Regions from separate parts of the Homo sapiens genome. Here region 1 is linked to region 2. The links are contacts of gene promoters, found by promoter capture Hi-C in human tissues and cell types (Jung and others, 2019). All regions are on one chromosome and are shown on one strand. Each heading gives the region's core, a stretch centred on a gene start or on the middle of the fragment in contact. The rest is flanking DNA. Distances are from core to core; before and after follow the strand shown.

Region 1 (5,022 bases), core at 454-2,953, 880 kb after region 2:
ACCACCAGGGGTGTTCCCTTCGGTCGCGTAGTCAAGCTAATGTCCTCATTGTTTTCTCCTTTGTATTTATTTATTTATTTAGAGATGGAGTTCCGCTCTTGTCGCCCAGGCTGGAGTGCAATGGCGTGGTCTTGGCTCACTGCAACCTCCGCCTCCCAGGTTCAAGCGATTCTCCTGTCTCAGCCTCCCAAGTAGCTGGGATTACAGGTGCCCACCACCATGGCCGGCGAATATTTTGTATTTTTAGTAGAGACAGGGTTTCACCATGTTGGCCAGGCTGGTCTTGAACTCCTGACCTCAAGTGATCCACCTGCCTCGGCCTCCCAAAGTACTGGGATTATAGGCGTGAGCCACCGCGCCCGGCCTCTCCTTTGTATTTAATTAGCATTTTGTGAAGAGAGATTAAGGTGTGCCAATTTTTTGGTTTTTTTTTTTTTTTTTTTTTTTTTTTTTTTTTTTTTTTTTTGGAGGCAGGGTCTTGCTTCATTTCCCAGGGTGGAGTACAATGGCCTGGTCACGGCTCACTACAGCCTCGACCTCCCAGGCTCCAGCAATTCTCCCAACTCAGCTTACGGAGTAGCTGGGACTACAGGTGTGCGCCACCATGCCCAGATACGTTTTTTATTTTTTGTAGCGATGGGGGTTCACCTGTTGCCGAGGCTGTTCTCGAATTCCTCGGCCCAAGCAATCGGCCTGCCTCGGCTTCCCAAAGTGTTGGGATTACAGGCATGAGCCCCCATACCCAGCCTCAACTTGGATGTTTTTTGCCCTCCATTTTTTTTCTCTCACAGGATAGACTTGTGGACAAATGGATCACTTGCCTCTGGTGCGTTTTTTTGTTTGTTTGTTTTGTTTTGTTTCTTAATTTAGCGACGAGGTCTTACTATGTTGCCCAAGCTGGTCTTGATCCTCGGCTCAAGCAATCCTCCTGCCTTGGCCTCCCAAAGTGCTGGAATTACAGGCGTGGGCCAGTACACCCAGCCCTAGAACTGCTTTGATCATTGTATCCCCAGAAACTAGCACACAACGCTGCACACAGTAGGTGTGCATGCCTGTAATCCCAGCTACTCGGGAGGCTGAAGCAGGAGAATCGCTTGAACCCGGGAGGCGGAGGTCGCAATGAGCCGAGATCATGCCACTGCACTCCAGCCTAGGCGACAGAGCAAGACTCCGTATCAATCAATCAGTCAATCAATCCAAGCAAAACAAAACTGGCTTTGAACAGTCAGCGGCATCCCACCAGGGATTGAGCCCCAGTGTGGGGCACACTCTGTTTACATTAGCTAGCTCATTTATTCCCCACAAAAGCCAGACAAGGCAGGTACTAATTATGATCGTGCGATATTAAACATGGAGAAACCAACGCTCTGATAAGTTCGTTTTATTGTGAGAATAAAACTGCTCAATGGGCGCTGTTATTCCAAGCGAGGTCAGGATTTCCGGATTCTACCCCGCTCCGCCCCTGGCCCCGCCCCGAGAATGTACGTCCCGCCAGGCCCCGCCCCGGCCTTGTCCCACCCACCCCGTCCCCGCCCCCTGTCCGTCTCGCCCTAGTCCCACCTCCTCGTCCCCAGTCAGTCCTGCCTCTCGAACCGCCCCCTGCCTTCGCCGAGGCAGGGAGAGGTGCCTGCAGTGCGAGCCGTGGACGCTAGGGGGCAGCCGCTCGGCTCGGGCCCGACCGCTCTGGGCTGCGCTCCTCGCTTGCCCTCGGACTCGGCTCCCGCTGCGAGCGGCCGCCCTGCCCGCGCACCGCGCTCAGCGCCCACCGCCGGGCTTCCCGCGCCGGACCCAGTACCTCGGCTCCCCGGGGCCGGACCGAGGCCGCAAGCAGCGCCGCGGGGTGTGGGGCGGACCCAGGAGATGAAATGACAACGTCAACCCTCCAGGTACTTCGTGCGGCCCGGCCCGACTTCGGAGGCCGAAGGCAGCGGGGCCTGCGGGCCGCAGAGCCGGGCGGCGGGCGGGTGGTCAGGTGGGCGCCTCCCAGCCCCGGCCTCGCGACCCCGCTCCGGCCGCCCCCTCGCCGCTTCCGCCCGTGTCTGTTTCCACGCGCTCGGAGCCGGGTGGCATCTCCACCCTCAGGCCTTCCGGCCCTGCCCGGCTGGCCCAGCCCCAGGGCCGCTTCGTGTAGCCGGCGCCCCGGTACCGCCGTGGGGATCAGCCTCACCCGAGCCGCACAGGCACCCTCAGGAAGCTCGGCCCGGGGTCCGGCTGGGCGTTCAGACAGCGATGCTCGCTCCCTCCTCTCCTGTCTCGCTCCCTCCTCTCCTGTCCCGGGTCCTGGAAGTCCCTCGACCTCACTTCGAACAAGCCCCGGCCCCTTCCCCAATCTTCGACTTCCTCTTCTCGGCCAGCGACCCTTCATTCATTCCCTAGATCCTGCAGGGTGGTGCTGGGATGGCGCCACCTGGGTGAACAACTGACCCACCCTCTAGGTGCTGTCAGTCCTGCGGGGCCAGAAGAGATCAACATGCTCAGGCCTCATTCCGGGGTTTGAATCTCAGCTCTGCCACTCACCAGCAAGTGACCTTGGGCTAGTTTTTTTTTTTCATCTTCGGGTCTCGAGTTTCCTGGTCTGTAAAATGGGGTAATGCCCTCTAGGTTGTTGTGATGATAGCTTTAAATTGAATAATTACGGTAAAGCATTCTTGTATGTCTGGCACATAGTAGGTGTCCATTAAGTGACAGCCAACAAAGTGCCTGGGAGAGTTAGGCAAGACTTCATGGAAGAAGGGACATCAGAGTTCCAGTAGCATTCAGAGACCTGGAGGTGGAGGAGGGCAGAAGTAGGAGCAGACATGGAATGAGTTGGGGTACCAGGTTAGGAATTAAGAGTCCATAGCCAGATCCCACCGTACCACCAGCAGAAGCCGCAGATCCCGTCTGCCCAGGCAGGTTTTTTATGGCCCGTGAACCGAGAATGTTTTTCAGTTTCAAACACAGGTGTATTTATTTATTTTTAAATTTTATTTATTTATTTTTTTGAGATGGAGTCTCACTCTGTCACCCAGACTGGAGTGCAGTGGTGTGATCTTGGCTCACTGCAGCCTCTGCCTCTCAGGTTCAAGCGATTCTCCTGCCTCAGCCTCCTGAGTAGCTGGGATTACGGGCACCCGCAACCACGCCCGGCTAATTTTTGTATTTTTAGTAGAGACCGGGTTTCACCGTGTTGGCCAGGCTGGTCTCGAACTCCCGACCTCAGATGATCTGCCCACTTCGGCCTCCCAGAGTGCTGGGATTACAGGTGTGAGCCACGGGTCTGGCCTAAACACAGCTTTATTAAGGTATAACTTGCGTGCTTACCATATAACTCACCCGTTATATATTTTTGTTTTTATTAATTTTTTTTTTTGAGACAGTCTCATTCTGTCACCCAGGCTGGAGTGCAGTGGCACAATCTCAACTCATTGCGGCCTCCGCCTCCTGGGTTCAAGTGATTCTCCTGCCTCAGCCTCCCAAGTAGCTGGGATTACAGGCACCTCCCATCACACCCAGCTAATATTTTTTTGTATTTTTAGTAGAGACGGGGTTTCACCATGTTGGCCAGGCTGGTTTCGAACTCCTGACTTCAAGTGTGATCTGCCCACCTCGGCCGCCCAAAGTGCTGGGATTACAGATGTGAGCCACTGTGCCCAGCGCAACTCACCCATTTAAAGTGTATAATTCAGTGCTTTTAGTATATTCATGGTTGTGTGACCATCACCATAATCACTTTTTAGAATATTTTCATCACCTCCAAAAGAAACCCCTCACCCACAACCCCTCTCTCTCCCAGCCCTGGGCAACCACTGCTAATCTACTTTTTTTCTCTGTGGGTTTGCCTACAGAGAAACCCACTTTATATAAACAGAGTCATACAATAGGTGGTCCTTTGTGGCTAGCTTCTTTCATTATGACTTAACATAATGTCATAGGTTTTTACATTTTTTAAATGGCTTGAAAAACAGTATTTCATGACACATGAAAATCCTATGAAATTCACATTTCAGGGTCTATAAATAAAGTTTTATTGGAACACATCCCTGTTCGTTTATTGATATACTGTCTACAGCTGCTTTTGTGCCATCAAGGTAGAGTTGAGTCGTTGCTACAGAGATTATCTGGCTGGCAAATCCTAAATTATTTACCATCTGGTCCTTTACAGTAAGCATTTGCCAGCCCCCATTAGCACTCTTTTCTTTCATCCTCATCTTTTGCCATACGTGTTACTAGAGATGCGGCGGGGCTGGCAGTTTCTCACCTTACCCTCCTGTTCTGTAAAACTGTTTCTCTCCATTGAAACTTGGACCCCCTGTGTGTGAAAAACTGTATGTGGCTGCCAGAAAAGTCCAGTGCACTCTTTTTTTTTTTTTTTTTTTTGAGATGGACTCTTGCTCTGGTGTGATCTCGGTTCTCTGCAGCCTCCACCTCCTGGGTTCAAGCAATTCTCCTGCCTCAGCCTCCCAAGTAGCCGTAACTACAGGCACGCGTCACCACACCCGGCTAACTTTTTGTATTTTTAGTAGAGATGGTGCTTCACTGTGTTAGCCAGGATGGTCTCAATCTCCTGACCTCCGGTGATCCGCCCGCCTCCGCGTCCCAAAGTGCTGGGATTACAGGCATGAGCCACCGTGCCCAGCCCCAGCACACTCTTAGGTGTATTACTAGAATTTCCAAAAGGAGGGAGGGGATGGGTCAGTGCTGCTCCTTATGGGACAAAGAATACCTTCAGTATTGTTCTAAGGATAGACCCAAGCATGAAGCTACAGAGAGTGAAAAAGTCCAAGGTACTGGGGGTGTGTGTTCTGGAGACGAGAAGCCACCAGGGAGAGGAGCGCTGCCTTCCTGTCTCATCTGAAGGAACATCATGCAGAAGAGGGCAGACAAGGGCAGCCTGTGCCTAAGCTCATTTCCAAGAAGGTTTGGGGCTCCCAGCCATTCATTGTAGGTAGTAGAGGGAGCAGAGGCTTGAAAATAATGGCCAGCACTCACCCCTCTTCTCATCTCTTCAATCCGCTGAGTTCATTTCACATCAGCCTGGCC
Region 2 (4,621 bases), core at 1,075-3,574:
TACTGTCTTCATGACTCTATTATAAACCAGAAGAATGTTTTCTCTTTTTTTTGAGATGGGGTCTCACTCTGTGACCCAGGCTGGAGTGCAGTGGCATGATCTCAGTTCACTGCAACCTCCGCCTCCTGGGCTCAAGTGATCCTCCCACCTTAGCTTCCTGAGTAGCTGGGATTACAGGTGCACATCACCATGCCTGGCTAATTTTTTGTATTTTTGGTAGAGACAGGGTTTCACCAAGTTGCTCAGGCTGGTCTTGAACTCCTGGTCTCAAGTGATCTGCCCACCTTGGCCTCCCAAAATGCTGCGATTGCTGGTATAAGCCACTGCGCCTGGCTATATTATAAACCAGAAGAATGTTCTTAAGAAAACAGTCCCTAATAAAAGATGCAGAAACCTCCTCCCAGGAAGATGTGGAAGAGAGGCCTGGGCCTCAGCTGATGGGATGGTGCCTGTGGGTTGGTAGTCATGGCACTCACTCCCACTTATCAGATAGTAGGGCTTACAAGGGCCAGAATTAGAACCTCTGGCTTTAGACCTTTGGTTGTCAATTCTCTGTATATGGGAAATCAAAACAGAACTTCATGGATGTCTCTGGAGGTGCACCGAAGTCAAGGCTGGAACTGGTGAGGGAGAATCTTTCCTATTCAAAAGAAATAGACTGCTTGGGATGGGTGAAGGCAGGGGCAAGAGCCCTGCATGCCAAGAGGGTCTCCTCCAGCTGGATGGTTCCAAGGTTTCACATGAATAATCAGTAGGAGGGAGCGAAGGGGCCCAGCTTCCTCATCTCTTGGAGAGGGTCTTTGGCTTTTGCAGAGTGACAGCCACAGGAGGCAAACTCCACTGGATGCCATGAGGACAATGGGTGGGGGGGCGGGCCCTAAGGAGCCAGAGTCAGAAGAAGGATGGGCAGAAACCAAGGAGGCTGTGATGACAGGGGCAGGGAGGTGGCAGCGCCATGGGACACATCAATGCTGACCCTAAGCTCTTCAGATTGCTGTTAGCACTGTGAGGCAATAAGGATGGGTGAATCTGCAGGCTGGGAGGGTGGTGGGATACTCAGCAAGATATCCGGCCTCGGGCCAGCCCAGGCTGGGGCTGGGTGGTGGGGATCTGGAGAACAAGCACTCCCTGCTGAAAGAGAGGGAGAGGTGTGCCACCCAGAAGGAACAACACCTGGGTTTGTCAGCCCTCCTCCCTTGCACTATGCCGCGAGGAAGTCAATCACATGTGTGTCTCTGAGGTGACAATGTACCCCCAGCACAGAGGATTCCATGTGGAGGATGCTAAGGGAGCACTGAGAGTGGATTTGCTTAAAAAGAAGCAGGGATCCCTAGTGCTGATGATGGGCTAGATTTTCCTCAAGGAAAATAAACTTCAGACTTAAGACACAACAAAGGTGAAAATAAAATAGAGGCTCTATTTTAGCCATCTTATCTACTACAGTATCAATAATCCTGTTCCACTTTTGCAAGATGCATAGCATAGTTCTAAATAGGACGTTTACATGATCAGGTATCTAGTCAACATTTGAACGGAGAATCTACTAAGGCTTAATGTAGAACCAAGCCCCACGGATGTCAGACACAGGTGTACCCACAAGGAAATGAATGTTGATTCAATAACCTTATTTGATCTTTGACAACCCCATTTATTATGTCATTATGGGGACTGGAGACTGGAGGAAGAGAAAACAAAGAGTGGTGAGCTGGCTCACCCTGGTCACACTGACAACCAGTTCATGACCATGTCAAGAAGCTTCTGTGGGTCTCCCCACAGTGGCCTGGAGCTGACTCCTGGCTGACCTAGTAGCTTGTCCCTACTGCTTGGCCTCCATAAAAGTGACTCATTGATGAAAGTTGCCAGGGGGAGCTACTGAATATCTGAAGGAGAGACATGCTTCTGAAAACTGTGAAACAATGAAAAGCTCTTAACAATTGATTTAAAATCAATATGGTGTGGAAATAGCACCCAAAATAGAAATATCCTCAAGAGGCCAAGGGATAGATGTACATTCGTCATTGCTGTTTCTGTCACTGCACTCATTTTCCAACCCTGACTGTGTGTACACATGTAAATATTTCATACGGATTCAGCCTCACACTGGGCTGTTCAACTTTTTATTAATAACAAGAATAATAATAACCTCATTTGTGGAGTGCTTCTTTCTGCCAGCTACTTTAAATTTACTCATTTAATCCTGCCATCAATCCACGTAGGTCAATATGGTTATTCCCATTTTACAGATGAGGAGACTGAGGCTTCCTAGGTCCACTCAGCAGCCTATTTTAAATCAGAGATTTAAACTCAGGTCTATCTTTTTTTTTTTTTTTTTTTTTTTGAGACAGAGTCTTGCTCTGTCACCCAGGCTGGAGTGCAGTGGTGAGATCTCGGCTCACTGCAACCTCCACCTCCGGGGTTCGAGCGGTTCTCCTGCCTTAGCCTCCCAAGTAGCTGGGATTACAGGAGTGTGCCACCATGCCTGGCTAACTTTTGTATTTTCAGATACAAAAGAGACAGGGTTTCACCACGTTGGCCAGGCTCGTCTCAAACTCCTGACCTCATGTGACCCACCTGCCTCAGCCTCCCAAAGTGCTGGGATTAAGGCGTGAGCCACCATGCCCAGCCTTAAACTAAGGTCTATCTGATTTCAGAGATGATCTTACCACTTTTCTGTATCGTCAAACTTGCCAGACGGCAAGGAAGAACTGGGAGGAATAATGAATGCATCTAGTGAAAGAATTGGGACCCTAAGACATCTGGAGGCTCTGGCAGCAACTGTCCAACAGAACTTTCTGCAGTGATGGAAATGTTTTGTTTCGACACTGTCCAATATGGTAGCCTGTAGCCACACATGGTTATCAGGCACTTGAAATGTGGCTTGGGTGACTGAGAAACTGAATTTTTAATTTAATCTTATTTATTTATATTTAAATAGTTACACATTGCTAGAGGCTCCCATACCGGACAGCACAACCCTAGTGCTATGGGCAGAAGTCAACAAGATGATTCTGGGTTGAGAACTGTGTAACATCTAACATTTGGGTCACAGGAGTGGGATGGGGAGTTAAAAATGACTGGGGGGGGGTGCTGATGCATTGTGAGCAGTCACCTCCAAATGTGGGAGCTGAAACATCGAATCAGAGAAAGGAAGGAGGAAGGGAGTGGGCAGGACAGAGGGGACGGGAGGAGCTTGGCAAGCGGGGGCAGGTACAAGACAGGTTCACCTGAGGATCCAGTCCCTTGTTCCCTGTGCTCGAGACCCAGAAATGCAAAGGAAAGATGAAGACTTCAGAGAGGGGAGGGTCTCATGCCACTTAGTGGATCTACCCACAGGGAAGCATCTTCCTGTGCCTCTGTCAGCTTCTTAGACTTCCCATGAGCTATGTCCACCTTCATCCACACCCCATTTCTATGTTTGCTTTGGAGTGTCTGAGCAGCCAAGGCCTCATCCTTGGAGCAGGGAAGTAAACATCATGGAGACAAACTCACTTGACTTCACTTAGAGAGGCTAATGACCCAAGATTTTCCAGCTCAAAGGCCCTGTGAGCATCTCCCAAGAAGATATGGCCATGGTAAAAAGACATTAGGAAGCAGAGGGCAATAAACCGTGTATGATCAGAAAGAGTAGGACAAATCCTTGACTAGTGTGCCAGAGGCAACGCTTTGAACAGAAGAGCCACACAGGCTGCCTCAAACAGCCACTCCACCCTGGTTTACAAATTGAATGCATCCTTCACCCCGCTCCTGCCCCATTCTGCAGATTTGCAGGGAGCAGGAGCAGCAGCAGAAGGGCCTGGGCAGCTTGCTCCAGAAGGGACTTCTCATCCTGGATTTTCAAAGGGGAGGGTGGGTTTATCCCTTTGTCCTCATACTGTCTTGAGTCTGGACTTCAAAACGTAAGAGGTAAATAGGAGAACCGGTCACAGAGAGAAAAGGGCTTCCCAGGAAGTCATGCTGGGAACTGGAACATCTAACCCCCTATTTTCCATGTCTGATAAAGAAAGAGAAAAAGTGAGCTTGGGATGTTTGCAAGAGGCAGTCCCTAAGGTCCCCAGATCACAGAACCCTCTGTCGATACCTGAACTAGGGGCTGGAGGAGGTCACACTTGGTCCCTGCCTTAGAGAAGGGAGGCAGACCTGGACACAGATGGTCATGCACAGCAGCGTGTGCAGAGAGCCCAGAGGAGACCAGGCCCAGTTGGGTTCTGCTGTCTAGGAACTATGGTCACATAAAAAATCCCAGCAGACAATGGTGACTGTGGTCAGAGCAGGTCAGCCTAGTCAAGCCAGGGGAAAGTCAGTCTCAGTGATGTAACTATATCTGGCTGCCCTGTGGGAGATGACCCCTCTCTGCTGGCTATACATTGGGTGCCATAGACAGGGCAGACATGCGCTATGGGCTAGGCCATTGCAGTGTTATAGACTCGGAGTTGGCCCCAGCCTACCAGGTACCCTGAGATGGGGTGCATGGAAGCCCCAGGGCTGGATTGCTAGTGGTCTAATCTCCATTGTGGGCAAAGCCAATGCCTGTCTGCTTTCTTGCTGGATACAGTGGGCTCCATTCCAGTCTAGCTGTCTGCCAGATCCTGCAAAGCTCAGTGTAATAGGGGCTGCCAGAGCC

The links. Contacts are between HindIII fragments. The study calls those that stand out against the background at their distance.
Region 1: the fragment with the promoter of VPS4A here is called in contact with a fragment that was not itself captured in region 2 in 1 of the 25 tissues and cell types used here (dorsolateral prefrontal cortex).

The regions. Positions count from the first base shown.
Region 1 is chr16:69,309,647-69,314,668 of GRCh38, forward strand. It overlaps VPS4A (vacuolar protein sorting 4 homolog A), which reads left to right and starts at 1,704. Exons shown (of 11, transcript NM_013245.3): 1 at 1,704-1,886. The coding sequence starts at 1,866. RefSeq lists enhancers at 576-1,526, 1,527-2,476 and silencers at 1,419-1,558, 1,619-2,168. The HindIII fragment of the contact is 10,929 bases long and covers 1-5,022 here.
Region 2 is chr16:68,424,677-68,429,297 of GRCh38, forward strand. The region is part of intron 1 of SMPD3 (sphingomyelin phosphodiesterase 3); the gene reads right to left. Among named protein-coding and RNA genes, the nearest start is that of SMPD3, 22 kb to the right of the region's middle. The HindIII fragment of the contact is 8,175 bases long and covers 1-4,621 here.